Regions from separate parts of the Homo sapiens genome. Here region 2 is linked to region 1. Evidence: promoter capture Hi-C in 16 types of primary human blood cells and fetal thymus (Javierre and others, 2016). All regions are on one chromosome and are shown on one strand. Each heading gives the region's core, a stretch centred on a gene start or on the middle of the fragment in contact. The rest is flanking DNA. Distances are from core to core; before and after follow the strand shown. Region 1 holds the start of LHFPL1 (LHFPL tetraspan subfamily member 1). Region 2 has its middle 8.4 kb from the start of ALG13.

Region 1 (2,700 bases), core at 177-2,676:
GGAGGGCCTAACATTTCTTTTTACATAATCCTATGTCTGAAGCAATGGTTCTTAAGGGAATGACAGCTGGGAGGTTATAAAACTTAGTTGGGGGGCTTACACTGCCAAAAGTCTAACATTCCACCTAAGGAGTCATCTGTGCTTCCCCCAGAAACATGATGGCCTCAGTAAGCCATGATTACAGATGGGAATGGATTTATCACTGTGTTGTAGAACAAAACGGTAAAAATTGCTGATGGAAAGTTGCTAGATAGACAAATACATGCATGAATATAGGATCATATCACTGATAAAAGGCAGGACACAGGTGGTATACACAGAAGGCAGGAGAAACTTTGTAAGTTCATTAAATAATCACGGTACAATTAATATGTTAATTTACGGTCATATTTTGAATTATTGCCACAACATGCTAGAAAATAGGCCTAATCACCTTTGTAGCATTCTGGTGAGGGAACTGGGCCATCAGAGAAGCATGGATACTTTGGATCAGTCCAGTGTGCTCTGTTAATGTAACCATTCTTCCTTCTAAATCATTTGGATTTGTTCAGCAAAGTTCCCCATTCACAGGCCATCTAGGAGGGGAAAAGAGACATGTACGAAAATAATAATAATAATAATGATACTAGGTAGAAGATAATAAGTTTCCCCAAATATGAAGTGTCAGGGACATTCACAGGTGGGAAATATGACATCGGGTTGGAGTAGAACATCAGGCAAAGCTCCATTCATCTCCAGACCACTCAGCTCTTTTCCCAAGCAGAGTAGCAGTTATTAGTGCACTGGGATAAATTAAACACTGACTTTTGATTGTATTATTACTATAAAAATATATTAGTTATTCCTTTCAATGTATGATTTCCACAAATTCTGAAATGTAAGCTCATTACATCTTGGAGCCAAAGATTGCTCTGCTGGAGCATCTTCCCCATCAGGCAATGGAAATCAGTTTGGGGAGAAGAGGTTGTTCTGTCTTATTCTATTTAGGCATGTGTTCTCTCAGTCACTTCTAGCCACATGGGTCTGCTACCTACCATGGTAGAGATTATCTAGGGCATTGGAGGAAAATTAGAGAAAATCTCTGTTCCTCAGCAGGCTTTTGGGCAGCAAGTGAGGAAGTAAGATAACGCAGTTCAAGCGCGGGCATGCCTGCGCGCATGCGCGCGCGCTCGCGCGGACACACATACACACACACGCGCGCGCGCGCGCGCGCGCGCACACACACACACACACACACAGAGCTGCTTTGTCCGCTGTGAGGTTGGAGGTTTGGGGACTCTGTGCCCACTAAGCTACTTTCTATTTCAAGTGCCTGTATGTCTGAGGCTGGGTTTGAAGCCTCCAGCGTGTTTGGAGTTAATCCCCATTAGGTTGGACTCCGCCCCTTTCTCCCAAAGGTAAAGCAAGGTTTTCAGGCATCACTGCAAAGGGCAGCTAGTATTCCCATCCTTGTCTAACAAGCTGTAAGGAGAAGTTGTTTCTGAGATCTGAGCCTGAAGAGAGGGAACAAGTCAGTCAGCCTTCGTGGTCAGAAGGTAAATATGCAACTTGGGCCAAATGCAATTCAAACAGCTGGATAAGAAACTGCTTTGCTCTCCCCTTGCTCAGCCCCCCCTTCTCCCCTTCCTTTCTCAGGTTTCCTGTCCTTTCATCTCAAAGCTCAGAGAAGCCGTTTTCTACCCGAGGGCAGCCTGGTGCTTTTTTATTTCTTCATAGTCCGTTGTTTGCACAGAGGCTAAGATGAATCAGGGCTGGATTCCTATTTCATATTGACAAGATTTGAGGACCTAAGGGTTAAGTGCTAGTTGGTTTCCCCAGGGGAGTTGGTAACCTGAGGAGATGAAGTGCCTGTTTCTGGGAGTGGAGAGAGTGATTTTGTTATGACCTGTCTATACAAGTAAAAATGGATCCGGTTTGCTAATGTGGTAGGTTGATCTCCTGGATTTGCCTAAATCTAAGGGGTTATGCGACGGAAATGGGGTAATGAAGTTAAACTGAAATGCAAATATTGAGGCCTCTCAGGCTGGAAATAAAAGAATGCATCCATTTGGTAAATATTTATGAGTTCCTACTATGTGCCAAGGCATGACAATTTCCAGAAGAACCTGAAATACTTAAACTATAAATCCATTCTTGCAAAGAACACTTGGCCAAGTGGTTTCATTTTGTGGTGGGGAACTGAAAATAGAATGAAGCCTAGGGGTGAGGAAAAATCACCCATGGAGTGGTTGTGGGGAGAGAAAGGGGAAAGGAGAGATGTTCTAAATCTTAGGTGGTTTCAAGTCTTTTCCATTACTTATGAGAGAATAGGGTCTTTTCTGGTAGAAAGGGAGAGAATTGATACCTACTCTGGTGTTAGGTATAGTGCAGATGTTTCACTTGAATTTTATGCTTAATCATTTCCATTTTATAAATGAAACCAAAACTCAGAGGTTTTAAGTGATCTTTTTATGTGCATATAGCCTGTAAGGGGCAGACCTCAGGACTCTGTCTCTGATCTGATTCCAAAATTGTGACTTTTCCACTAAAACAGTATTCCTCAATCATTAGTTCCCATTAGAATAAATTGAGGATTTTTAACAATATGAATTCCCATAAATTCGAATTCAGTGAATCAAGGAGGGGGTGACATAGTCTGCATTTTGAACAAGCATTGAAAGTGATTCTGAACAAGCATTGAAAGTGATTCTGTTGAGACAA
Region 2 (2,700 bases), core at 156-2,655, 1.0 Mb after region 1:
CCTCTCACTATGTATGCCCCTCATTCCATTGAAAGCCTCCTCACTTTTCATCATACCCAACATCTTTCAGCCAGCCGATTGACCTATGAGATACTATTTTCTTTTTCTCCCAATTTAGCCATTGCCCACTGCAATCTATTAAAACCCTTTTATCATCTCCAGTGGAAGACATCCTGTGACTGTGTCAGTTTTACAGATACCCTCCTTTTACCCAGCATATACCCAAAGGAAATGCCTCTGCCCAATCTGGACTTTGTCTAGTACACTGATGGGTCTTCTCTCAAGAGCCCTGCTGGCTCTTACCTCGCAAGATACGCCATAGTTTCCCCAGCAGAGACTATTGAATAGGACCCCCTTCCCACGGTCTGGTCAGCTTAACAAGCAGAATTGCATGCCTTCACATGAGCCTGTTTGCTGGCTGGAGGCAAAACAACTAACATTTTATACAGATGGTAGATTCGTCTTTGGTGTTGCACATAATTTCGTATGCCCTGGAAACAATGAGGTTTTTTGACCTCCTCCAGACAACCTATTAAAAATAAAGATTTTTGTTTTGACACTTCTAAAAGCTATTCAGGCTCTATTATCTCTTGCTATTATCAAGATCCAAGGATACTCCCCTGAAAACTCTGAAGACAGTAAGGGCAATCATCTTGCTGATGCAGCTGCTGAAGCTACAGCCCTACAAGTAACTCCCTTGATCATGCTCATTCAATCCTCAGCCCCCATGCTTGCCCATTTGATTACCATTTTTCTAGACTTTTCACATCTCAGAAAGCAGTTTCATATCTTGAAAGGGGGAAATGGATGAAACAAAGTTGCACATTTAACTCCCAAACAAGATTATGAGAAGGGACAAATAGACATCCAATCCTCCCTAGCAGTCTACAGACACAAACAGACCTTTATACATAACCTAATTCACTACAATCTGGATACAGTGAATAAATGGGTCAGACAATACTTCGGAGAAATTTCCCCAACAGTTGCTTTTTAGGTATACAAACTTTGTAGCCTCTGTCCCCAATATACTCCAGGTGAACCCCTAAAATGTCCTTCAGGCCAAGTATCACTTCCCAATGGCCTTTTTGCAGAATGGCAGCTTGACTTCATCCAATTACCCCCATCTCATGGATACAAAAATGTCCTTATAATGGTTGACATGTATTTCCATTGCGTTGAAGCTTTCTCCTGCAGACAGACTACGGCCATGTCAGTAGCCAAAGTACTCCTTGAAAAGATCATTCCTCTTGGGGAATTCCAACTGAGCTATATAGTAACCAAGGAACTCATTTAACTGGCCAAGTATTAGCAAAAATTTGGAACATTTAGCCCATTCTGCAGCATTTTCATTATGCATACCACTCCAGTCTTTTGGGCTGGTTAAATAGATAAATGGGGTTATAAAAACCCAATTTGTGAAGATCCCAAGTACTTTTAACCTGCCCTGGCATAAGGCCCTCCCATTGGCATTGCTAGTTTTACAATCCACACCTAGTAGGAAACACTGTCTCTCCCCTTTTGAGATCGTTGCCGGTCTGCTCATGCACCTGGTTGAAGAAACGTTTTCCCTGCTCGGTTACAGGGAGACTTCCTAACCTACTACCAATGCCTTGTCAAAGCTTTAAAGACTAACCGCCACAAGGTTGTGGAATCCTTTTACAGGCCCAAATCAGATAGTGACCTCTGGCATCGCAGCCTCCAGCCTAGTGATTATGTACGTTGGTAGAGACATCAATTGAAAGATTACCTTCAGCCTTGTTGGAAGAAGCACTCTTTTCAGGTACTGTTAATCAATCTCTGTGCTGCCAAGTTACAGTGTATTGACTCTTGGATACATATATCTCACCTAAAAATGGCACCAACTCCTGGAGAATCTTGGACATAAATGCCAGTGTTTAATACCAAATTCAGATTACTAAAACCCCATCTCCAGGCCAAGAAGACAACATCTAAGGTTGACAGCTAACCCAGGACACCAGACCAGGACTGTATGAGTAATATGCTCAGCCCTTACATTTACTTTATTTCTGCCTTGATTGTCATAGCTTTGGGAATTCTCTGTATTTTAGACATTTTTTTTGACATGTTAAAATTTAAAATAGTTCCTAGACAGGGCAGTTCCAGACGAACATCCTGTTTGCGCCTCTGAGCTAAGGCAGTTCCTGTAACCAGTAATTGGAGCTGAGACACAGTGGCAGGAAAACTCCCACCAGCAGCCTGAAAGGAGCATCCAACAGAGACTTCTGGTTCTGGCTTGAAAACTACCCATCTGGGACTCAGAAGTTTTCAACGAATTCGGGCTGAAAGAGTTTGAATTCTTCATTTGCACATATGGACCTGATCGAGGGCTGGGGTGGGAACTTTCCCAATAGCATGCTTTCAGTTTACAACAGAGGCTGTGATTGTTTTTTTAGAAAATAAAACTCTTCGGCCAGGCGCAGTGGCTCACTCCTGCAATCCCAGCACTTTGAGAGGCCAAGGCAGGTGGGTCACATGAGGTCGGGAGTTCGAGACCAGCCTGACCAACATGGACAAACCCCGTTTCTACTAAAAACACAAAATTAGCTGGGCATGGTGGTGCATGCCTGTAATCCCAGCTACTCGGGAGGGTGAGGCAGGAGAATCGCTTGAACCCGGGAGGTAGAGGTTGCGGTGAGCCAAGATTGCACCACTGCACTCCAGCCTGGGCAACAAGAG

Evidence for each region. Contacts are between HindIII fragments. The CHiCAGO score rates a contact against its expected background, and 5 or more counts as called.
Region 2: a fragment that was not itself captured here is called in contact with the fragment with the promoter of LHFPL1 in region 1 in 1 of 17 cell types (non-activated CD4 T cells); the score reaches 7.1 in non-activated CD4 T cells.

The regions. Positions count from the first base shown.
Region 1 is chrX:112,678,664-112,681,363 of GRCh38, reverse strand. LHFPL1 (LHFPL tetraspan subfamily member 1) reads left to right here and starts at 1,426. Exons shown (of 4, transcript NM_178175.4): 1 at 1,426-1,535. The HindIII fragment of the contact is 5,630 bases long and covers 1-2,700 here.
Region 2 is chrX:111,671,412-111,674,111 of GRCh38, reverse strand. No RefSeq gene overlaps it. Among named protein-coding and RNA genes, the nearest start is that of ALG13, 8.4 kb to the left of the region's middle. The HindIII fragment of the contact is 438 bases long and covers 1,187-1,624 here.